7 separate regions of the Homo sapiens genome follow, and all the other regions are linked to region 1. Evidence: promoter capture Hi-C in 16 types of primary human blood cells and fetal thymus (Javierre and others, 2016). All regions are on one chromosome and are shown on one strand. The core of a region is centred on a gene start or on the middle of the fragment in contact, and the rest is flanking DNA. Distances in the headings are between cores, read along the strand shown. Region 1 holds the start of FBXO11 (F-box protein 11). Region 2 overlaps STON1-GTF2A1L (STON1-GTF2A1L readthrough). Region 3 overlaps STON1-GTF2A1L (STON1-GTF2A1L readthrough). Region 4 overlaps PPP1R21 (protein phosphatase 1 regulatory subunit 21). Region 5 overlaps PPP1R21 (protein phosphatase 1 regulatory subunit 21). Region 6 overlaps PPP1R21 (protein phosphatase 1 regulatory subunit 21). Region 7 has its middle 9.5 kb from the start of PPP1R21.

Evidence for each region. Contacts are between HindIII fragments. The CHiCAGO score rates a contact against its expected background, and 5 or more counts as called.
Region 2: a contact is called between a fragment that was not itself captured here and the fragment with the promoter of FBXO11 in region 1, in 3 of 17 cell types (M1 macrophages, M0 macrophages and megakaryocytes). The highest score is 7.8, in M1 macrophages.
Region 3: a fragment that was not itself captured here is called in contact with the fragment with the promoter of FBXO11 in region 1 in 1 of 17 cell types (fetal thymus); the score reaches 6.4 in fetal thymus.
Region 4: a contact is called between a fragment that was not itself captured here and the fragment with the promoter of FBXO11 in region 1, in 5 of 17 cell types (fetal thymus, non-activated CD4 T cells, M1 macrophages and 2 more). The highest score is 7.9, in fetal thymus.
Region 5: a fragment that was not itself captured here is called in contact with the fragment with the promoter of FBXO11 in region 1 in 9 of 17 cell types (non-activated CD4 T cells, activated CD4 T cells, M1 macrophages and 6 more); the score reaches 9.3 in non-activated CD4 T cells.
Region 6: a fragment that was not itself captured here is called in contact with the fragment with the promoter of FBXO11 in region 1 in 15 of 17 cell types (total CD4 T cells, M2 macrophages, M0 macrophages and 12 more); the score reaches 13.1 in total CD4 T cells.
Region 7: a fragment that was not itself captured here is called in contact with the fragment with the promoter of FBXO11 in region 1 in 17 of 17 cell types (total CD4 T cells, naive CD8 T cells, naive CD4 T cells and 14 more); the score reaches 32.1 in total CD4 T cells.

What each region holds. Positions count from the first base shown.
Region 1 is chr2:47,905,248-47,908,642 of GRCh38, forward strand. It overlaps FBXO11 (F-box protein 11), which reads right to left and starts at 1,251. Exons shown (of 23, transcript NM_001190274.2): 1 at 242-1,251. The coding sequence starts at 473. LOC100506235 (a long non-coding RNA gene) reads left to right here and starts at 303. Exons shown (of 2, transcript NR_187636.1): 1 at 303-552; 2 at 2,071-2,920. RefSeq lists silencers at 24-73, 84-203, 564-753, 1,244-1,343 and an enhancer at 1,413-2,197. The HindIII fragment of the contact is 3,894 bases long and covers 1-2,356 here.
Region 2 is chr2:48,585,078-48,588,472 of GRCh38, forward strand. The region is part of intron 2 of STON1-GTF2A1L (STON1-GTF2A1L readthrough); the gene reads left to right. All of the region lies in intron 2 of STON1 (stonin 1), which reads left to right. Among named protein-coding and RNA genes, the nearest start is that of GTF2A1L, 31 kb to the right of the region's middle. RefSeq lists an enhancer at 456-1,090. The HindIII fragment of the contact is 917 bases long and covers 1,090-2,006 here.
Region 3 is chr2:48,534,725-48,538,119 of GRCh38, forward strand. The region is part of intron 1 of STON1-GTF2A1L (STON1-GTF2A1L readthrough); the gene reads left to right. The region is part of intron 1 of STON1 (stonin 1); the gene reads left to right. Among named protein-coding and RNA genes, the nearest start is that of STON1, 6.3 kb to the left of the region's middle. The HindIII fragment of the contact is 2,613 bases long and covers 576-3,188 here.
Region 4 is chr2:48,508,561-48,511,955 of GRCh38, forward strand. PPP1R21 (protein phosphatase 1 regulatory subunit 21) reads left to right here. Exons shown (of 22, transcript NM_001135629.3): 20 at 1,455-1,553; 21 at 2,780-2,908. Among named protein-coding and RNA genes, the nearest start is that of STON1-GTF2A1L, 20 kb to the right of the region's middle. RefSeq lists enhancers at 1-32, 33-807. The HindIII fragment of the contact is 2,035 bases long and covers 686-2,720 here.
Region 5 is chr2:48,477,662-48,481,056 of GRCh38, forward strand. PPP1R21 (protein phosphatase 1 regulatory subunit 21) reads left to right here. Exons shown (of 22, transcript NM_001135629.3): 13 at 2,263-2,355. Among named protein-coding and RNA genes, the nearest start is that of PPP1R21, 39 kb to the left of the region's middle. The HindIII fragment of the contact is 1,734 bases long and covers 644-2,377 here.
Region 6 is chr2:48,456,918-48,460,312 of GRCh38, forward strand. It overlaps PPP1R21 (protein phosphatase 1 regulatory subunit 21), which reads left to right. Exons shown (of 22, transcript NM_001135629.3): 4 at 1,209-1,310; 5 at 2,837-3,001; 6 at 3,178-3,236. Among named protein-coding and RNA genes, the nearest start is that of PPP1R21, 18 kb to the left of the region's middle. The HindIII fragment of the contact is 1,509 bases long and covers 1,120-2,628 here.
Region 7 is chr2:48,429,555-48,432,949 of GRCh38, forward strand. No RefSeq gene overlaps it. Among named protein-coding and RNA genes, the nearest start is that of PPP1R21, 9.5 kb to the right of the region's middle. The HindIII fragment of the contact is 8,975 bases long and covers 1-3,395 here.

The DNA.
Region 1 (3,395 bases), core at 1-2,500:
AAACCAAACAAAGCGCGGCCTGAGCGAGAGCCCAGGCGAGAAGGGAAGCCGCGGCTTTTCCTGCCGGCCGGGCCCGGCCCGGGCTGACACTGCGGCACCGGGGGACCCGCCTCCGCTCAGCTTGGGTCTCCCACCCCCAGGGCGCGCAGGCCGCCCCCGCCCGCCCGCCCGCCCGCCCGCCCCGGCCTCCCTTCCCGCGGTGCCCGGGAAGGCGGGCGGTTGGGAGGTAGCGCGGCCTTACCCCGCTCGCCGACGTTGTTCCGCTCCTGAGGCAGCGGCGGAGGCGGCGGTGGCGGCGGCGGAGGCTGCTGCTGCTGCTGCTGCTGCGGCGGCGGCGGAGGCTGCTGCTGGGGCGGCTGCTGCTGGGGCGGCTGCGGCGGCGGCTGCTGCGGGGGCTGCTGCTGCTGTTGCTGCACCGGGCGCGGCCGCGACACTCGCCTGGGTCTCCGGTTGGCGGCTCGGACGGAGTTCATTTGCCGGGCTGAGGTGGCGGCGTTGGCGGAGGGACACACACACGCACACGCACAGCGAGCTTCGGGGCAGGAGAAAGGGGTGGGGAGAGTGGGAGAGGGGGGAGGAAGGAGAGGGGGCGAGGGGAAGGGGAGACGCTGAGGGCGGAGGGGGCGAGCGGGACCCCGAGTCCGGAGAAAGGCCCGGGTAGACAGACGGAGACCGAGCGAGGCCGGCCGGGAGGGCCTGACGCACGGGGAAGGCCGAAGCCGCCGGGCGGGGCGGCCGCGAGGGACGAAGGCAGAAAGACGGGCAGACCGAGAGAAAGAAAGAAAGGGCGTCCGCCGCTTGGGGATCCCGAGGCGAAGCGCGGCGGCGGCGGCGGCGGCGGCTGAAGAGACAGATCCCGGTCCCGCCGACTCGCGAGCGGCGTCTCCGGCAGCGGGGGGAGTGGGCGGGCGGGTGAGGAAGGGAGAAAAAGAGAGGGAGAGAAGGGAGGGAGGGAGCAGGGGGCGCCCGGCTCTTTTTTTTCCCTCTTCCTCCCCCCCACACCCCCTGAAAGAGATTTCTGTGAGGAATTTTTCTCTCTTTCTTCGGTCTCTTCTCTCTCCTCCCCCCCTTCTCTCCTCGGCGAAGGGGAAATGAGTGTGAAGGGAGGAGATAGGGGGAAAAAGAGGCGTCGTCCTTCCTCCTCCTTAAAGGAACCTTTCCTCCTCCTCCTCGTCAGCCCTGTCGCCGCTGCTTCTGCTGCTGCTCCGTGGCAGGAGGAGCCATTGACACCGCCGGAGCCTCCACTCGCCCAGTCGGTCCCTCCCCGCCGCGGGGCTGGCCGGGGGCGCGGGGGAGGGCCGCGGGGCGGCGGGGGGAGGGGTGGGTGGGCGGGGAAAGGAGGGGCGGGGATTCCGTCCAGGCGGCCAATCTAAGGCGCCCGTACAACCTTCCGGCCAATGGGGCCTCCGCTCTTATCGCGAAGTCCCTTCAACGCCCTGTTTCCTCTCTCGGGTTTCCTCCCTCCCCCGCCTAGGAGGGGGAAAGAGGAAAGGGGGAGTGTGGCGGGGCGGGTGATAATGGGGAGGTATCAGGGCAAATAATAGAGCAGGGGGTGGGCGAAGAGAGCGCCAGTGCGTAGCGACGATTCTGGGAGAGGAGGTGCTCGGAGGAAAGGGCGGGGGTTGCTGATGTAATGGGGAGAAGTGATTAATCCTTCGGTTCGCCGTTTCAGCTTCCCCCCTACCCCAACCTTCACCCGATTTTTTTGAGCTGAAAAAAAAGTGGAACGAGGGAGCCAATCTTTGGTAACTCGGGTTTTCTGTGGTAGGTGGGTTCAAAATCTGAGCTGTAGGGAGCGCTAGAGATTTCGTGCCCTTTAGCCAAGCTGAGGGTATTTGCAAACCCTGAAGATTTCCGTCTCCGAGCTTTGGGCTTGGTAAGCGAAGTTTGGAGTCGGTGCCTAATCGTATATCATCTAAACCTTGAAAAGGCTTTGACCTTTGGCCAATTTGATTTGTTCTTTGAAGAAGTGTATACAATGTGTGGGAAAATAATATGTGAGAGGAGAGAAGTAAATGTGTTGATGTTGTGATTGTTTATGTGATTTAATTTTTAATTTTTTTTTTTTAGGTCCCACAAACTGCAAGGAAAAGAAAAACCCTCAACAGGAATTACCTTTATACCTGATGCCCCCAACATAATCTCTCTCCAAGGGAAACGTGTTTTTATTGCCTTGCGGCTGAAAATGTATTCTCGATTCTCCCCCTTCTCTCTTTTGTTGTGCATTTTTTGGATGTGGTAAAACTGGCAGTTTATCTGATTATCTGGTTTTCAGAACTTTGGGCGATGTCTCTGAGTGTCATCAGTTGCTCTCTAGGTTTGACATAGATAATTAAGCAACTACAAAGCGTGATAAAGCTTTTGAGAGGGAGGAAAATGTATTTTGGAAGGAGGGAGAGACGCAAAGAGGCGAGCCTGTGTGTTGAGTCCCAGACTTGGTGTGTGACTACAGGCAAAGTACTTCACCTTTCTAGATGTCAGCCCCGCCCCCCTCACCTCCCAAGTTTAAATAAGAACTTATTTTAGACTACATGATCCTGTTTTCAATTTTTAAGAGTTCTGTGATTTTGAGATGATCTCTCTTTAGTCCAGAAAAATAGAGAAACGTAGGTCTATGTTTGTTTCTCAAAAAAATATTTGAGGAGGACAGCTGTTACAAAACAGCTGGAGAACTCCAAATTTTTATGGTGGTTAGCTAGGTGCAAATGGGTACAATTTTAGGTTTGTTCAAATAAACATAGGGGAAAAGTAAAAGTACAGGAAAATTACGTTATACATATAAGTGTGTCCATCATTTCTGATTTTTCTAAAAATTTACTTTTTTATTTGACAAGTACTTTTTGGCTCCTTCCGTGTATGCATTAATATGTATATAAGGTGTTATGGGAAATACTAATAAAAGGAAAATATTGGGCATAAAGAGTTTGTATTTTGGTGTGGCAGAGTGGAAGTTTTACTTACATTAATTCAGATGTAAAGAAAATGTAGCTTGTTTATTTTCTGTAATTTTAACTTCAAGTCCCCACATCATCTCAATTTTTTAAAAAACATAACTGCTTTCACCTTTTATTTCCCCAACTCTCCTTCTAATATATTAATGGGAGGGGCGGGGTTTAGGGTTGTTATATGTGGTATAAGGGGTATCTTTTACATACCCTAGATTTCTAAGTTTATTGCAACAATTCTCTGACATATGGCAGTAAAATGCCTTGTTTTAGCAAAATTAGTATATTATGACAATTTCCTGATAGATGGTAGTAAAGTGTCTTGAGAAAGGAAGCACCTTTTTCAAATTCACAGAGTAACTGGTAGGGTGGTAGCATCCCTGAGGAATAGGGAGGTTTACAAGGGCATCTAAGCCACTAATGCCAGTCCTTATGTTGTCTTCTGGCGTG
Region 2 (3,395 bases), core at 298-2,797, 680 kb after region 1:
CCCCCATACTAGCAAGGATAGCTCAGGCTTAGGGCAGAGTGAGGTGGTGATGGTGCAGCCTGGTCACAGTAAATGGTCTCAAACAGCACATTCTGATCAACTCTGCTGTGATGGGAGGGAAGGTCAGTATCTTCTATGATATAATCCACTGAGATGATGTTTCCTGCTTTCTTTTTTTTTCTTTTTTTGGGATGGAGTGTTGCTCTGTCACCCAGGCTGGAGTGCAGTGGTGCAATCTTGGCTCACTGCAACCGCTGCCTCCTGGGTTCAAGCAATTCTAGTGGCTCAACCTCCCAAGTAGCTAGGATTACAGGCCCGCACCACCACACCCGGCTAACTTCTTATATTTTGTGTAGAGATGGGGTTTCACCATGTTGGCCAGGCTGGTCTCGAACTCCCAACCTCAGGTGATCCACCCGCCTCGGCCTCCCAAAGTGCTGGGATTAGAGGTTTGAGCCACCGTGCCTGGCCCCTGCTTTCTTTTATAACTTGGCTAGAGAGGCAAATTGAACCATTTGCATCATCATGCCAGAGAAACCAGTTTTAAGGTCTTCATACAAGGTTCCAAATGGTCTATTCTAAAAGTTACTTGTGCTAGTTTTAGGTTAGAGGGTTTAAACAAAATCAGAGTATTAGCTTTTGTTTTGCTCAACAAAAAGGGAAAGAGAGGCAGGCAGAAAGTCAGGCAGGCTGGAATGCCTATTGGAAACTCCTGGATCTGCAGGTTTCCCCTGAAATCTGGGTGATAAACTAACTCCTGTTGTTTTCCGTTGATCCTAGAGATGGTCTCGAGGACTAGAACAAAAGGTCCAAAGCAGTTTTTGCATAGACTTGAAGTGGTAATTATGCTTTTGAGAGAGAAGCACAATAGGCTCAGGCTGTGGGCTTGCCCACGTGGTGTGAGAGGGACAAGAGCACAGGCTCCCTTTGTAGTCCATTCCTATTGCTCTACTTAGAGCAGGTGCTCCGGGAGGCCCTGAAGGAAATAAGCACTTGGCTAAAGCCTGGCCAGGGTAACCACACTTATTTTTCAAACTGAGAACCCATACCAATCATCTTTTCTAATTTTGGGAGTGCAGACACGTATGAAGCTTTTTGTGAAAATGATCCTGTTTATAATACTGCATTTTTTTCAGAGTCATTGGTGTAGTTAACTGATTCAATCAACAAGAATTTATTGAGAAGGAGTCTCACTCATTTACTCCACAAACATCTACTAAAGTTCTTCTAGGTATAGGTTCTGTGCTGAGTGTTTAAGAGATACAGACACAAACATGATTCCTACTCTACCAGAAACTTAACAGTCTAGAAGGTGAGACAGACTCTGAAGCAGCTACCCAAATGCACTGTGGAAAAGTGCATAGTTCCAGGCTTGGACAAACATATGCACTTAGGGATCCCAGAGGAAAGGGTAATAAACTGCCTGGGGACTAGGGAGGGCTTCGCTGAAGAGCTGATGGCTGGGAGAGTCAATAGAGTTTCCATCAAAGAAAGAAACAGCAGAACCACAGGTGTGTGGGTGGGGGATCTTACCTAAGTTTTGGGGCTGAGGGAGTGGTCGGGGAAGAGACCAGTGTATTAAGACCTTGTGGGCCATGCTGTGGGGTGTGAAGTTTATCTGTCAACAGGGCCTCGGGGTTGTTTTCGGCATGACTGCTACAGAATCATATCTTGTTTCAGAAAGGCTGGCATGCAGTGCAGAGGAAAGATTTAGGAGTAGATTATAGACACAGGGAAGTTGGGAGGAGGTAAGGGTTGCTGAGCAAAGGCAGTGGCAGAGAGAGAGAGGCAAGAGATGGGTGAGCGAATTCAGGGGAGGTGCCCCTAAGTGATGACAGATTCTCTATGGGCATGAGGGAAAGGGAGGGAATGGGACAAGGTCAGGTGCTCTGGCTGTGGTGGATAGGTGGGCAATGGTGCCATTAGCCGAGATAGCCTGGGATCTTCTCATCACTCATCCTTTTAAAGTCTGTTTCCCAGTCCTGGCCACATGTTAGCATCATTAAAGCTTCAAACACATACCCATATTTGGGCCCCATCCCCTACTAATCGGGCTCTATGAAGATGAGGCTCAGGTGTTGATGTTTATAAAGGCTCATGCAGCCGGGGTTGAGAACTACTGACGTGATCCCCTAGGCAGAGATCATTCCTCCCTGCTCTGCATATGCCTTTGTCTTCCAGACCTCTGTTATTGCTCTCCCATGAGTATTTATTTATTTATTTATTTATTTATGAGACGGAGTCTCGCTCTGCCACCCAGGCTGGAGTGCAATGGCACCATCTTGGCTCACTGCAACCTCCACCTCCTGTGTTCAAGAGATTTTTCTGCCTCAGCCTCCCAAGTAGCTGGGACTACAGGTGCGCACCACCACGCCTGGCTAATTTTCGTGTTTTTAGTAGAGATGGGGTTTCGCCATATTGGCCAGGCTGGTCTCAAACTCCTGACCTCGTGACCTGCCCAGTTTGGCCTCCCAAAGTGCTGGGATTATAGGCATGAGCCACTGCGTCCGGCCTCCCATGAGTATTTATTAGCAGTGGAGCTCACCAAGAACAATGACAAGAATGGACATTTCCAGGGAAACTGGCTGGACCTGATCTTGGCCTTCAGGAATTCTTTTGTAAAACCGTCATATCACCAGGCCCACAGAGGACAACATTTTACAGGCATTTCAGTCAATTACACAGTGATAATTCACTGAACAAATCCTTTGGGATCACAGCTGCTTTATTGAGATCAGGTCTGTGCACAAAGAGGAGGCCCAGGGAAAACACAGTGGGGCTGTGTCAGGTGGCGTCCAGAGGGCATGGTGCAGCTGTGGGCCTGGCTTGGGGCAGGACATTTCTGGGATTACAGGGCCCTGCCCCAAGCTTCTCCGTTGAGGGGGTAGGGAGGGCAATGCAGAGAGTGAGAGGGTGCCAGGGCAGGCTATAAGCTAATTTGCCTCTTGAGAAGTAGGGTAATAATAAGGTTGGAGCAGAGAGGAAATCTTTGTCCTAAGGCAGTGCTTCTCAAACTTTTGTGGGCCCAGGAATCACCTTGTTAAAATGTGGATTTTGACTGAGCAAGTGGGATCTGGAATACTGTGTTTCTAACAAGTGCTGATGTGACGCCAATGCATCTGGCCCAAGGAATACGCTTAGAATAGCAGGATCCCAGAATGCATCTCTATTTTTCTATATGACTTTTAGATCAGTTGTGTATTTAGAGAACATAAAGTTTTTAAAAAGCTCTTTAAAATTTTATCCTTTTCAAGATTGTCTCGGAAAACTTTGCATTATTTGAAAAGATACTTCGAAAATGGAAACTGAATGAATAGCACTGGAGTGCAGTGGCGAGGTCTCAGCTCACTGCAACCTCTACCTCCCAGGCTCAAGCCATCCTCCCACCTCAGCCT
Region 3 (3,395 bases), core at 632-3,131, 630 kb after region 1:
GTGAGCTATGTCACGCTACTGCACTCCAGCCTCGGCAACAGAGCGAGACCCTGTCTCCTAAGAGGGGGTGAGGAGGGAGAAAAACAAAAACAAAAACACACTGATACGTAAAATGGAAAATGCCTCCCATCTCTTCCAGCTCCGCCAGTCACTTCTCTTTAGAAGTCTTTGGTAACTGCTCCAGATTTAGAGGTAGCTCACCCCTTCCTTGCAAACCAGCTCCACTCACAAGAAGAATCCCGAATTCCATGGAGGCTTCCTGGCCAGCCTGGAATTCCAGGTACCTTATGGGATTCTGGAGCAGTCCTCAGTACAGGGCAAGATTTTTAAAGTAGATCAGGCAAATTATGTCTTCAGAGCTCTGCAGATTACAGGGTGTCATCATTCTTTGCAGCGTCAGGAGAGTGTGATAGGTAGAAAGACCCAGGGAAAGCACCGAGGCTCAAATGTACCTGTGTGTTACATGGAATGCCAGGGGAAATAAAGGGTTTACCATGGAATAAGAAAGAGAAAAAAAAAACCTCATTGCTGGATGCTTATTACTATGAACACACAACAATAAATTATCTTTCGAAAGCTTGCCTATGTGGGTGATCCCATGCATTGGTGAGTTTGACTGATTGGGTGAGGTGGAAATATTTAGTGTGAGTGATTCTGGGGAGAGCTCTGGGAAAAAATGCCCACATCCTGTACTACCATGTCCCCTCACAGGCAAGCAGCTCCTGGGATCACTCATCCATTCTCTTTGTGGAAGGTACCTTGAGATCCCCAGAAGGATCAGCATTCTTAGAGCCCCTGGCCCATCACATAACAAACATGCCTTAAGAAGAAGGCTTTCAGCTGGGCGCAGTGGCTCATGCCTGTAATCTCAGCACTTTGGGAGGCCGACGTGGGGGGATCACCTGAGGTCAGGACAAGAAGTCTGATCACAAATGATTGTCATTTTATTATAATCTGCCTTCTCCCTGGTAGCTTTTAAAATTTTCTCTAAAATGTTCCACAGGTATGTCTAGGTATGGATTTAGAAAATTTTATCCTACCCAGCAGTCAGTGAGCATTTGTGATTACACAAATTTGTGTAGCTGGGCACGGTGGTTCATGCCTGTAATCCCAGCACTTTGGGAGGCTGAGGCGGGCTGATCGCTTGAGCTCAGGAGTTTGAGAACAGCCTGGGCAACAAGGATGAGACCCTGCCTCTACAAAAAATATAAAAATTAGCTGGGCATGGTGGTGTGCCCTGTGGTCCCAGCTACTTGGGAGGCTGAGATGGGAGGATCACTTGAGCTGGGGAGGCAGAGGTTCCAATGAGCTGAGATCAGGCCACTGCACTCCAGCCTGGGTGACAGAGCGACACTCTGTCTCAAAAAATAAATCAAAAAACCTAAAAACCAAATTTGTGAGGATTTGTGATTACCCAGTGAGCTGTGTGACCTTGGGCAAGTTGCCAAGTTCTCTCAGTCTCCTCATCTATGAAATATAAATAATGATAGTATCTATTACAAAGATACTGTGAAGAGATAGTGCATGAAAATGTCAGAATACGCCAGGTGTGGTGGCTCACGCTTGTAATCCCAGCACTTTGGGAGGCCAAGGTGGGCAGATCACCTGAGGTTAAAAGTTCGAGACCAGCCTGGCCAACATGGTAAAACCCCATCTTTACTAAAAATACAAAAATTAGCCGAGTGTGGTGGTGGGTGCCTATAATCCCAGCTACTCGGGAGGTTGATGCAGGAGAATAGCTTGAACCTGGGAGGCGGAGGTTGCAGTGAGCTGAGATCGTGCCATTGCACTCCAGCCTGGGTGACAGAGTGAGATGCCATCTTAAAAAAAAAAAAAAAAAAAAAAAAGTTAGAATAGTACCTGCTATATAAGGAAGAACGCAAAAATTGTTAGCTATTATTACTTTTTTATTTTTTCAGAATTTCTGGGCCATCTTGGATTTGACCAATTTATATAAACGTTAGTTTGTCTAGTTGCACACACACAGAAAATCCTGTTGAGATTCTCTTTGAAATTGCATTCAATTAATACTGACATCTTTACAGTGCTGGCTTTTCCTATCTTCTCCTTTTATTCAGGTGAATGATTACTGGTGATTTCCCCTATAAATGTCTTCTACAACTTTTGCTGTATTTATATCTTATAGATTTGGTTGATATTTTAAACAATATCTTTTGTCCTAGTATATTCTCTAGTTTACTTGCTGGCCCATAGAAAGAAACATTGCTGATTTTTGAATTTTGTTTTTTTACCCAGCATCCCAGCTGATTCTCTTATTAGTTCTAATAGTCTGCATATAGATAATTCTTGAATTTTCTATATAGACAATCATAAAACAACGATAATTTATCTTTTCCATTTCTGTGACTCCTACATCTTTTTCTTACCATACTGCATTGGGGTAGATGGTCCAGTACAGTGTTCAATAGAACTGTGATGACAGGCACCCTTGCCTTGTCTTCTTACTGTCTTTAACTTTAACTGCTCTTAAAGTTTCTCCATTAAGCGTGAAGTTTGCTTAAGGTTTCAGTAGATAGTCTTTATTAAACTAAGAACTTTGCTCTATTCTTAATATTTTTTAACAAGGTAAAAATTATATCATGACAGTATATATTTTACTTAATGCTTTAATGTCTTTTTCATAACTATATGAGATGATCATTTTTTCTTGATATTACATTGTGATAAGATGAGCGTATTAATTGTGTTGAAACATGTACATAAATATACATATACAGGTATATTATTCTGTAGGGTATCGGTTGCTAGTATTTTACTTTGGATTTTTGCAAATGTTCATAAGTGAAGTTGTTCTAGAATTTTCTTTTTAAAATATTGGTCTGGCTGGGTGTGGTGGCTCATGCCTGTAATTCCAGCCCTTTGGGAGGCCGAGGCGAGCTGATCAACTGAGGTCAGGAGTTCAAGACCAGCCTGGCCAACATGGCGAAACCCTATCTCTACTAAAAATGCCAAAAATTAGCTGGGCGTGGTGACATGCACCTGTAATCCCAGCTACTCGGGAGGCTGAGGCACGAAAATCACTTGAACCCGGGAGGTGGAGATTGCAGTGTGCTGAGATTGCACCACTGCCCTCCAGACTGGGCGACAGAGCAAGACTTCATCTCAAAAAAAAAAAAAGAAAAAAAAAGGAAAAAAAAAGGAAATTGTTCTTATATTGTTTGGTATCAAGCTTGTATTGGCCCTATAAAGTAATCATAAGTATATGTCTTTCTTTATCTTTTTTTTTTCGAGACAGAGTCTTCCTGTTTCCCAGGCTAGAGTGCGGTGGCATGATCTTGGCTCACTGCAACCTCCGACTCCCGGGTTCAAGCAATTCTCCTGCCTCAGCCTCCTTAGTAGCTGGGATTACAGGCACGCGCCACCACGTGGGCCCA
Region 4 (3,395 bases), core at 453-2,952, 600 kb after region 1:
CAAACTGAATGGCTAGCAGTGGAAATGCTGAATCACTAAGCCGGCAGTCCAGCAGGCATGGATCCTCATTGTTTGGTTCTGAGTTAGTGTCTCAGACTTGATTGTCCTTTTCACAAGGACCTGTGCCTTGCATGCCTATATTCCTCTTTGTCAGGTTCATTGCTGAGCACAGAATAGATGTTTGGTTAATAGGAGGCGGTTGACTTGGTTGGCTGAACTGCCCTAAAATTTTGTGAGAAATGAAATAAGTAGCTGAGGAATTTTTTTTAGGCTGTTTGATTTCCAAGACATTTAGTTATTTTAGTAAATATCTTCTGTGCAATTGTGATTCAAGAATTTTTAAATTGTCCTACTTTTTCCTTATTGGTAAACAGGAAGTGGTGACCTCCCCCCTCCCACATGACTTTACTGCTCTGAGCGCCTTATGTTGACATAGCATTTGCATGTGTTTCAACAGATTCTCCTTGTCAGTAACCTTATCAGAAAGTTTAGTGAGCCTTTTAATTTCATACCCTCTTTGAACAATATTGTGAAATAGGATTTTTCTTTTATCGTTTTGATCTACACACTCTCTGGATAGAGTAGGATTGGTAGAACCCCTAAAGAAAGCAGCCTGGAATTTTTGCAATCTTGTGCTCATTTTTTCCCTTGTAAGTAGCGCATAATCTGTAGGGTAGGATGGTAAAGCTTTTATTGCTCCTATAATGTGGTCTCTAATGAAGGACTTAAAACACAAGAAAAGTACCTTAGGATCCATAGTGCGTGGTCAGAAGCTCCTGATAACTTTTGTAATAATCACTTTTCTTTTTATCTAGTATAAATATAAATGAATTCTAGATAAATCTAGAAAGTTCTTATGTAAAGAACGGGTGCTGTGGCTCACACCTGTAATCCCAGCACTTTGGGAGGCTGAGGTGGGCAGATCACTTGAGGTCAGGGGTTTGAGACCAGCCTGGACAACATAGTGAAACCCGTCTCTACTAAAAATACAAAACTTAGCTGGGTGTGGTGGTGCATGCCTGTAATCCCAGCTACTCGGGAAGCTGAGGCAGGAGGATCACTTGAACCCGGGAGGTGGAGGTTGCAGTGAGCCAAGATCATGCCACTGCACCCCAGCCTGGGCAACAGAGCAAGACTCCGTCTCAAAAAAAGAAAAAAAAAGAAAGTTCTTATGTATTATATATAACCACTGGTCATCAGGCTAGAGTGAAGAAAAAAACATTGATCTTAAGTTGGTAGACTTTTTTCCCCTTACTGAAATGACAAAGCTGGGGGCCACTTCTTTCTTAGGTGTACTCTGATGTGTGACACAATGCCTATAGGTATTCAACAGATTATTTGTGGAATGAATGAGTAGCTTTGGCTTTGAGAAGTGTTTTTAACAAACTTTCCCGAAGCAAATTTGGTTTTAGAAAGTGCTCCCTCTAGTAATGGAATGTTTTCTGATTTTACAGTGCCGAGCACTGTCTAAAAGACTGGCCTTGGCTGAAAAGTCTAAGGAAGCATTGACAGAAGAAATGAAACTTGCCAGTCAGAACATCAGCAGACTTCAGGTGAGTTAAGTGTTACCTGAATGGTTTTAATGTTTTTTCATTGAAAGTTCTTTGGTAGCAAAGCAGCATTTCTTTTCCAAAGGCATTTGATCTCTAGATATGCTTTTTAAGATAACCACTGTATTTCTGATTCATTTAAAAATAACATCTTACTTATGTTAGGCAAAAAGTAGTTGTATTGTTTCTCTGACTTGATTCTAATTGTAAATCATTTTATAGTCGGCTTTTGCTTAAATAATACTTATTTACCCAGAATTTTTCTTTCCCCTTCCTTGTACATACCCATCATGGTGAGCTGTAGGCTTGTTCTGTACATAGTACTCTGTTCCTTTTCTTTCCTGTTGCATAAAACGGATCTAAACTGAAAGGTGGGGCTATAACATTCCTTCTTACTCACTGCCTGGTTTTAAATCTTTGTTTTCAGAAAGCCTCTGCTAATAAAAACATGATGCCAGGCAAGGAAAAAACACAGCACTACAGCAACACCCACTTCCTCTTTGCTTTAGATTCATTTATCAGATTAATTAGGCACACAGGATTAGATTTTAGGCAGCAGAAGAGAGCATGAGAAATGGGAAGAGAGATGAAGGGTGCTTCTTTCAGGGACGGTGCTGCCGGGAGGGCTGTAGGCCATCGAGGCATAGGATGGAGGCAATGTGTTGTAGGCCTCACCTATGGCTCAGCAAAACCTGAGGGAATTTGGAAAGATAATGAGGCCATATGGCTTTTCTTACAATTTTATACCTGGCATAGAAAGAAACCCTTAAATTTTTGCAAAGAAATTATGAATCTACTTTGGAGGCTGAGAAAAACTTGTTGCCATTTCTTTTAACTTTGTTCTCTTGTTAGGCCTGGGCCTTAAGCTGCATGTCAATTGATCAGATAGACCATCTTTATAGGTTGCTTTTACAAGTAAAAGAATTTTTTTAAAAAATTGATGTAAATAGTTGTACATGTTTGGGGGGGACATGGTATTTTGATTATTTTGATACCTTTGTACAGTGTGTAATGATCAAATCAGGGTCATTTGGAGGTCCACCACCTCAAACATTTATCTTTGTGTTGGGAACATAATAATTCTTCTTTTGTAGCTATTTTGAAATATACAGTAAATTATTGGGAAACTATAATTTCCCTACTCCACATTTTTCTTTTGTGAATTAAAAAAGCTTCAGAGTGGTACGACTCGTGGGATGTTGATTTTTGTCTTTTTCTTTGCTATTTAGGATGAGCTGACAACTACCAAGAGGAGTTACGAGGATCAGTTAAGTATGATGAGTGACCACCTGTGCAGCATGAATGAGACATTATCTAAACAGAGAGAAGAGATTGACACACTAAAGATGTCCAGTAAGGTATGTGAGGTGAGGTGAGGTAGTCTCTCTGCAATATAATATTTAATGTGAGGTATTTTATTGTTATGCATTTCAGGAGGAAGAGGACATAAGATTTAAAGTGTTTGTAAGGGCCAGGGGCAGTGGCTTAAGCCTGTAATCCCAGTACTTTGGGAGGCTGAGGTGGGAGGATCCCTTGAGGCCAGGAGTTGGAGAGCAGAGTGGGCAATATAGTGATACTTCATCTCTACAAAAAAAAAAAAAAATGAAAAAATAAGCCAAGCATGAGGGCCTGTGCCTGTAGTCCCAGCTAGTTGGGAGGCTGAGGTGGGAAGATTGCTTGAACCTAGGAGTTTGAGGTTACAGCAAGCTATGATTGTGCCACGGCACTCCAGCCTGTGCGACAGAGTGAGACTCTGTCTCTAAAAAAGAAAAAAAAAAGCATGTATAAATAATTTTCCTTAATATCATTTGTCCTTTTTTCCAAAAGTATTAAGTGTCTTTGGCT
Region 5 (3,395 bases), core at 261-2,760, 570 kb after region 1:
TCCTACTTTTTTTTTTTTTTTCAAGATTGTTTTGGTTATTTGAGGTCCCTTGCAATCCCGTATGAATTTTAGAATCAGCTTGTGTTGATGTCTACAAAGAAGTCAGTTGGGATTCTGATAGGGATTGCATTGAACTTGTAGATCATTTTGGAGAGGGTTGTGAGTTGAATTGTGTCCCCCAAAATAATATGTGAAATTCTAACTGTCAGTACCTGTATGTGTGATCTCCTGTGGAGATGGGATCTCTGCAGATGTCATCAAATTAAGATGAGGTCATACTGGATTAAAGAGAGTCCTAAATCCAATGAATGGGATCCTTATAAGGAGAGAGAGATTTCGAGACAGAGACACACAGAATCTGGAGACAGAGATACAAGGGGGAAGGCCATATGAAGACAGATGCAGGGATTGGAGTTATGCTGCCACAGGCAAGTAACACCTAGGGCCAACAGAAGCTGGAAGAGGCAAGAAAGAATTCTCCCTTAGGGCCTTTGGGGAGAGTGTGACCCTGCCAACACCTTGATTTTGGACTTCTGGCCTCTAGAACTGTGAGAAAATAAATTTCTGTTGTGTTAAGCCACCTTGTTTGTGGTACTTCATTACAGCAGCACTAGGAAATTAATACAGGGAGTATTGCCATCTAAGCTTAGTCATCTGATTCATGAACATAGTATGTTTTTCCATTTATGTAGCTCTTTAATTTCTTTAAACACATCTTCTAGTTTTTAGCATGTAAGTTTTGTGCCATGATGTTGCTTCTCAAGGATTCAGCCTTGGGCATGCATACAGTCACCCTGAGATGACGATGGTGGCAGGGCTCTCCTTCACTGTCTCTTTCACTGATCACACCCAGGTTTAAGCTCTGCTGATTGCTGATTGATTGCTCTCATTTTCAAAATGTCGTGGGGCATCAATTGTCTATTCAGAGAATCAATTCAGTTTGGGCTCTTTTACGGGTATAGTTATAGACCTAGTGTACACCTAGCAGGTAGAGTTTTTTGAGATCAGTGTTTGCGCTTCATTCTGACCCCAGGAGGGCTCTTCTTAGCTATTTCTGTTTCCTGTTCTCTCTGGTAAACCAGGCAGCCCACAGTTTAACTTATATCGCTAATCTACCAATTTCTTCTTCATTGCTTTTACCACAGCCATAATTTTTTAGAGTACACCCTTAGGCTTGAACTTCTCCACACTGTATTACAAATTAAGTCAGTTCCTTAAGAAGAGATTAAGAGCTCTTGTTTTAAGGCTTGCTTATCTCCTGGGCTAAATCTCTATGGGCTAGGGACAGTGGTCATACTTTTCTCTAAGTGACACCCCCTTGTTAGAAACTGCGCCCTTAGTGGAGGGGGTAGGCAGCAGCCCCCGGTCTCCTTGGTCTGCCTCTTTCAGGGTGGAACTCCTGTTGATGAGCTGGGGCAAGGGTGATCAGGGCCCCACTTTTCTTGGCAGCACCACGCCCAAGGTAGAGCCTCCATCTTAGGAGTAGGGGCTGGGTGAAAGAAGGGGAACGTTCCCCGCCTCTGTCCACACTTGCTCAGAATTTAGCTTCAGCAACAGGTAGCTGGGAGCAAGAGGAGAAATCCAGACCTCTTTAGGAGTTGGGAGAGACGAAGTCCCGTGTTCTTGGCTATACCTATTGGGAATGGAATTTCTGTCTCCCTGAGCTGTGGGAGGGAGGTAGTGATTCTTGGTTTAAATACCGTAGCCTCTCACTGTTATTACTGAGTTGTTACAGATTTTCTTGAGTAAATCATGTGCTGTGTTGCCCTTAGAACCGTCTCCAGAGACTTTAAGTGATTGTCCTTTTTGCAAATTTTACCAGTTTTGCAGAGGGCAAGCAGGTCCACAGAGCTCCTCACGCTGACATGGCAGAAGCAGAACTCTGTGATATTTGGGTAAGAGTGTTTTAGCGATGTTCAGCAAATAATGTGTAGGGAATGAAAAATGCATTATATAATAACAAGGTAAACATTCACAAAGACTTTCGTTTTACAAAGAATCATGACAGACTTAATCCTGCTTAACAACTGAATTTTGTTTCTCAACCATTAAAAAATATTTGTGGACATAGGAGATGCAAATCATTTAGATGTGCTTATGTGTATCACCATTATGTCTGAATGTATCTGCCACGATTTTAAGAGGCATTATTTCTAGCACATTACAACCAATCTTCATTCTCTATCTTCCCAAAAGTAGAGGGATACAATGGGCAGTCCATTTTTCAGGAAAATGCTTAGATTTGTGATTTTGATTTCCTAGGTACAGAGCCAGATGGACTCCTTCGGACAAACTACAGTTCTGTGTTAACAAATGTTGGTGCTGCTCTGCATGGATTTCATGACGTTATGAAAGGTAGGCCTTGAAAAAGAACGTAAGCTTAAAACCTTTGCCCCACTTTCTTCGATCTGCCTGAATAAGATTTAAACAAACACTGCCAAGGGTAATAGACCCCAGATAAAGGCTTATTAGCATTTGGCTTATGTTGAGTGCACAGCTCACTGCCTTCTGCTTTTCCCATCTGTTTTATTTCTGGAGGTAAACAAAGTGCTGAAGAGAAATCCTTGTGTACAGTCCTTGTGTACAGTACTTTAGCCAGAAATACGTTACACTGACTTTAGGCAGGTGTGTGAATTGTACAAAACCAGACATGCTATTCAGAGGCCTTTTGCAAAATACGTTGCGCTTCTTAGAGCCCAAGCACAAAGGAATTGAGGAAACCAAGGCTTCAAGTCCCCAGAAGGAATACACTAACTTTCCACCATCCTGTGCATTTTAATATTTTAAATGCCTTTTAAAGTCCTGTCTTGTTGGGCATAGCCTTAAGAAATGAAAGTCTGGTTTTGCATTTTGGTCAGTTTTCAATTGCTTCTGTGCTCCTAAAAATGTAGTCTGCTGAAAGGCCGAGGGGAACCTTTTATTTCATATGCTTCTTAGCGTGTGATTCTGAGTCCTGACTAATCTACAACTTTGCAATTGCTTCTAGGTTTTTTTTCCCTTTCTTTTCCTTTTAGAGACTGTTGGGGTAGGGAAAGCAGGGGAAGGAGGAGACGGGCAGGAGCAATCTATTAAGGACTATTGGAAATAGTCCAGGTGCCTGGATGATTCATTGTTTTTAGTTAACAATTAGTGACCAATTACTAATTGCACAGAGAATAATTTTTAAAAACCTAAAGCTGTGTTTCATAACATGGATAAGAGGCATATATTGGGGGACCTAATCTGTGGCACTGGGATTCATTCTTAGTCTCAGCAGTGTTACCAAGCACCAGTTTACCATTCAGTCTACGGTATGGGCCTTTCTGTGGCTTGTATTCAATTATAAGGAACTTTATAATTTTTTCTGAGGTTCAGTTTCGCTTTATTGCCCAGGCTGGAGTGCAGTGGTGTGATCT
Region 6 (3,395 bases), core at 624-3,123, 550 kb after region 1:
GGTATGTGCCTGTAATCCCAGCTACTTGGGAGGCTGAGGCAGGAGAATTGCTTGAATCCAGGAAGCCGAGGTTGCAGTGAGCCGAGATCACACCATTGCACTCCAGCCTGGGCGACAGAGTGAGACTCCCTCTCAAAAAAAAAAAGATACATGCCCTGGAAATTCTGAAAGACCCTTGGGGAGAGAATAGTCATCTGAACTTCAAACATGTTCTTCAGGTTCTTAATATCCCTGCCTAGGACTGTTGAGCAGAGGTTTGGGTGTAATATTGAGAATTAATTTTAATTAAAGCTCATCAAATTTGGAAGCACTAAGGACCCTGAATACATCGTTCTGCAGTGTTCCATATGCACCTCTTGTTTTCCAAACATGATGGATATTTAATTTCTTTTTATATGGCTACTCCATTTTCAAAGGGCTTTTAAATCACTGATTCAAATTGGATTAGTAGGTGAGTTCATTTTAAGTGAGAAGTGAGACTACAAAAAAAGCAGAGAAAGGGTGGTGACTGATGTTTGAACACAGTTTCATTGTTAGGCTGTTCCTTGAATAGTCTCAGTTCTATGTATTACATGAAAACAAATACTCATTATTAGATGTTTTAAATAGTGCTATTCTTCTATGTAGAACGAGTTCATATTAGTAAAAATTTAAAGGAAGGGATTTTAAAATAATCTTTGAGAATTTTCCTATTTATTTATAATAGCTTTATTTTATATATTTTTTAACTTAGAAATTTATATGAACTTTTGTATAAACTTACCTTTGTGGATGCTGTTACAGAATTTATTACAATTTCTTATGGAGTTTAACAACTCCGACTCATGAAATTGCTATAACTCTCATTTCCCAAACCAAAAGATCAAATTGAAATGATATTTATGAGCTTATTTTATATTGCTGGAGCTTTCTAGGTCTGCTCCGTCCTCCAGCAGAACTACTCCTGAATTCATCTGCAAAGAATAGTAAGCCTTATCTGTTCTTTTCTCTCTCTTTTTAAAGCTTTCCTGCTCCTTACAATATTTGCAGTTTCAACTTGTGTCACATAGGAAAAGTTAAATGATGAACTGTATAGCTTTTGCAGGATTGTTTGAGAATGGTGAACACATAGAAGAGACAAGCTTCTAAGATGATAGAGAATCTGTGTACCTTAGGATGTTTCTCTAAAGGATGAAAGTTATGTGGACATAACTTATTCTTTCCATCAGAAAAGTGGAGAATCTTCTTCTCAGTTGAGTCAAGAGCAGAAGAGTGTCTTTGATGAAGATCTGCAAAAGAAGATAGAAGAGAATGAACGGTTGCATATACAAGTGAGAAAATCTGTTTTTCTATGTGAATTAAAAAATGGGTCTGTGATCTGTTAATGTGGAAAAGCTAATGCACATAGAGTGTTTTGTGTCTGCGTGGGTATTTTAATGTCTTCTATGGTCTTCAAGTATATATGTCACTGTCACTTATTCATTTCTTAAATATCACACAGTCTTAATGTGGATGTGTGCTTTGAAGTATATGCATTTGTTCAGAAGACAGCAGAATAGCTTTATAACTTAACAGTGCAGAAATATACTGAGCATTATTCATTTTATATGGGAAGTGATTACATGTATCATTTAAATGGGAGCTTACCAATAAATGGTATTTGCTTTTTTCCCTCCCCCTCCCTTTTTTTTTTTTTTTTAACTGATGTTTAGTTTTTTAATTTACTGATGTTTAGTTGGTTCTTATCCCTACCCCTGTTAAACTGTAAGGTCTCTGAGGGTATGAACCATGTATGTTTCCTATGCCTAGTCCCAGGACAGTGTCTTACTTATGTCAGGCACTCAGATATTTATGGAATGTTGAAAAGTTAGTGCCTGCCCCCAAACCACTGAGCATATTCTAAGATTCATAGTGGGCTGGGCGCAGTGTCTCATGCCTGTAATCCCAGCACTTTGGGAGGCCAAGGTGGGCGGATCACGAGGTCAGGAGATCGAGACCATCCTGGCTAACACGGTGAAACCCCTTCTCTAGTAAAAATACAAAAAATTAGCCAGGCGTGGTGGTAGACACCTGTAGTCCCAGCTACTTGGGAGGCTGAGGCAGGAGAATGGCGTGAACCCGGGAGGCGGAGCTTGCAGTGAGCCGAGATCAAGCCACAGCACTCTAGCCTGGGCGACAGAGTGAGACTCTGTCTCAAAAAAAAAAAAAAAAAAAAAGATTCATAGTATAGTGTATCCAACTATAACCTCCTTACTTATTTTTTTTTGGTCAAATGGTAGGAAACACACACACACACACACAAACAGACACGCTTTTCAGTCTTTGAAAAAGTTGTTTTTGACCACAGTGTATTTTATATCTAAGTATTCACAATTCTTTATTAGTATTGGACTCTAATTACAGGAAAGAGCTTTACCTGTTTTAAGAATAACACCTGTTTTAATTTTGATTATTTTATGTGAAAGTTAGCTTAGTAGAAAAGTTATACTCTGATCAATTGAATTCTATGTATGCCAGACATTGTTTAAAACAGAAATTCATGAGACTGAGAGGTAGGAGGTGCAGGCTTTGGAGTAGGTTTCCTGTGTTCAAATCTCAGTTCTACTATATTTTAGCTGTGAGACATTAGACTAGTTATTAACTCTTTTAAGCTTGAGTTTCCATATTTGTAAAGAGGAATAACAGTAGCTACTTCTGATATCCTGTGAGGATTTAATGAGATAATGCCTGTGTGGGTTTAACATAGTCAGCATATGGAACCATGTGGAAGTTGCTCAGTGAATAGTCACTGCTGTTATTTTTCTCATTTATGTATATTAGGATATTGTGAGAAGAGAAAATGGTCTTCTCTTTTTAGTTTTTTGAAGCTGATGAGCAGCACAAGCATGTGGAAGCAGAGCTGAGGAGTCGACTGGCCACTCTGGAGACAGAAGCAGCCCAGCACCAAGCTGTGGTTGACGGTCTCACCCGGAAGTACATGGAAACCATTGAGAAGCTGCAGAACGACAAGGCTAAACTAGAAGTAAGCCCCATTGTGAGAGCACACTAAAAAATAGTTACAGCTTTTGTATTAATAAATTGTCTATCCACTTAGAGTTAGTCATTTCTGGTGAGACTTTTGCCTGCAGGGTCTTACTAAGTGTGCTCCTATCTGTCGTAGCCTGAGCCATCTGTGTTTCTTTTTCTTCTGAAATTCAGGTGAAATCTCAGACTCTAGAAAAGGAAGCCAAGGAATGTCGACTTCGAACGGAAGAATGGTATGTGGAAACTTGAATTCCAAGAGGGTTCTGAAGCAAGACTCAGAAGACATGGGTTTTGGTTGTAGCAGCTCCTCTGTTTTAATTGTCTTACATTTAAAAGGAGAAAATGGGAGTAATCTACAGGGTCCTTTTCAATTCTGGGATCTCCGGGGCCCT
Region 7 (3,395 bases), core at 418-2,917, 520 kb after region 1:
AGCGGGACTCTGTCTCAAAAAAAAAAAAAAAAAAAAAAAAAAAAAAAAGTGCTAAAGCGCCAAAGGCTCTCCAAAAAGGGGAGGAGGTAATGTTTGAGAAGGAGTTGTGGAGGTGATGGGGAGCAGGGAAAAGGGTGTGTGCAAAGACACATGGGGTGCTGGAGAAACTGGTTGAAAATCAGAACTATTGAAGCTGAGTGCAGGAAGCACGGTGGGGCCCAAGAATTTGGGTCTTTTTCCCTGGGAATAGAAACTTGTTTTTAATCTATGAAGCTAGTAACCTGTGACAAGAAAGGGGATGGACTGGAGTCAGGGAGAATGGTTAGAAGGCCGTTTCTAAGTAGACCAGCAGCCTCAGATGAGGCTCATGATTGCTACTATTTGTAGAGCTATGGAGTAAGGCCGTACCACCCTGCACCTAAAGGGCAGGTCCAAAAGACCTGTGCCCTCACTCTACGTCTTTATGTGATACTGGCAAGGAATAAAATAGTGACACTTGTAGTAGAGTAAGAAGATAAACCATGGACAATTGTAAAGCATCTTTAAAAACTGAAGACACAAGTGGGTGGGTGATGAGAAATTGCTTAGTGGGTACAATGTATGTTATTCGGGTGACAGATACACTGAAAGCTCAGACTTCATCACTACACAATATATCCATCTAACAAAATTTCACTTGCACGCCTTAAATTTATACAAATTTTTAAAAATCAGAAAACAATCCTGAGGACATAAACACACACATGGAAGTATGTTCAATATATGCACTAGCATGTTCATTGCAACATTATTCACAATGGCAACGAAATGGAATCAACCCAGGTGCCCATCAGTGGTGGGCTGGATAAAGACAGTGTGGTACATATACACCATGGAATGTTACACAGCCATAAAAAGGAATAAAATCTTGTCCTTTGCAGCAACACGCATGCAGCTGGAGGCCATTATCCTAAGCGAATTAAAGCAGAAATAGAAAACCAAATACCGCACATTCTCATTTATGAGTGGGAGCTAAACATTGGGTACACATGGACATAAAGATGGGATCAATAGAGGATGGGGATTATAAATACTGAGGAGGAAGGGAGGGGGGCAAGGGTTGAAAAACTATCTACTGGGTACTATGCTTACTGGGTGACAGGTTCAATCGTACCTCAAACCTCAGCATCACACAATATACCCTTGTAACAAACCTGCATGTGTATGGCCTGAATACAAAATAAAAGTTGAAATTTTTAAGAAAGCATGTTCAATATTACTAATTTTCAGGGAAATGCAAATCAAAACCACAATGAGAAAGCACTTCTCACCCACTAGTTCAGCCATTATTAAAAAAATTAAAAAGCATCTTCGGTATCACTAATCATTAAGGAAATGCACATCAAAAACCACAGGGAGAAAACACTTCTCACCCAATTGGTTAGCTATAATGTAAATAAGCAAACAAAAAAGATAGCAAAAGAAAGTAACAAGTATTAGTAAGGATGTGGAGAAACTGGAACCCTTGTACATTCCTGGTGGGAACATAAGAGTGCAGCCACTGTGGGAAATGGCATGATGGTTCCTCCAAAAAAAAAAAAATTAAATATAAAATTACTATATGACTCTGCAATTTCACTTCTGGGTATATCCCCAAAACAATTGAACACAGGAACTTGAACAGATATTTGTACACCCATGTTCATAAGAGCATTATTCCCAATATGCAAAAGTTGGAAAAAAACCAAATGTTCATCAATGGATGAATGGATAAACAAATATGGTATATATATACAATGGAATATTATTCTTTTTTAAAAAGGAAAGAAATTCTGACACATGTTATGACAGTGCTGAACTTTAAAAACACTATGCTCAGTGAAATAAGCCAGACACAAAAGGACAAAACATTATATGAGTTCACTTATATGAGGTCCTAGAGTAATGAAATTCATAGAGACAGAAAGTAGAAGAGTGGTTGCCAGGGGTGGGGGGCAGGAGGATGACGAGTTTTCATTTCAGGGATATGGAGTTTCAGTTTGGGAAGATAAAAAAGTTCTGGATGGGTGGTGGTGATTGCACTACAATATGAATGCACTTGATGCTGTGGAAGCATACACTTAAAAATTGTTAAAATGGTAAAATTTATTTATATATTTTAACATACACATTCGAACCCCCTTCCACACACACACACAAACTGAGGACTATCCCCTGCCTCCCCACCCTCAAGAGCCAAACTTAACAATCCAATACATTTGACCCCCTTATATGTGATCTGGTCACTCATTGCTCCTCAATACACATGTTTTGTTTTACAGCCAGTAAGTAGAACGAATACAATCAGATTTAAGGGCCTAACAGTGGAAAAAGGGAAGGCCTCATGCTTAAGAAAACAGAACTCTTTAATATCTAATTTTAATTCAAGATTAACATTTATTAGGTGTTGAACTATATAACAGAGTGGCTCTCCAAAAGAAAATGTTATCAATTTGGGAATAGAACACTGCAGTGGGAATACGTACAAATGCCATAGTTAACTATGTGTGTGTTCAGGGAGGTAAAGGAAGACAAAGGTTTTTTAAAAGAAGAAAATGAGAAAGATTACACAGTTGTTTCAAAAAAATTATCTTTGGCTACAAAGATCAGTAACAAGGATAATGCCATAACGCCAGTCCAGGGTTGGGCAGGCAGTTGCTGGGCAGCTGTCCCCGCAGAACTATTTTTTGTTTAACGTTGCGATAGCATTTGTGTAAGGTTGTGGTTTTTCCAGAGTCTCTTTTGCTACCAGGTATACAAGTGTGAGAACCCTCTTTTTAAGGTCTCCCCGGTCTCTCTTTGCTAAGGTTTTTTTGTTTTTTGTTTTTAAGTAGTAGCGACTCCGTTTTGATTGTGACAGCATTCACATAGGTTATCAAGAGTATCAAGATTAACAGGTTTCTAGTATGTGCCCTTAATATGATATATTGAAAATTACACCTTATCTGTTTGTCCTCCCAAAAATTTGGCCCCAGTAATCATATGGAAACAGTAGCCAAATCCCAGCTGAGGCATGCTGTACAAAATACCTGACCAGTATTCCTAAAAACTATCCATGTCAGCAAAAATAAGGAAAGTCTGAGAAACTTCCCACTGCAAGAAGAGAAAAAAGATGTCAGAAAAAACAACAACAAAAACACCTTAAGGAATGAAGTATGCACTTTAGTTAATAATTATGTAAAAAAGGGGGAGGTCGGGCTGGGCGCGGTGGCTCACGTCTGTAATCCCAGCACTTTGGGAGGCTGAGGTGGGCTGATCACTTGAGGTCACGAGTTCAAGAACAACCTGACCAACAGGTGAAACCCCGTCTGTACAAAAAAAAAAAAAAAAAAAAAAAAAATTAGCTGGGTGTGATGGTGGGCGCCTGTAATCCCAGC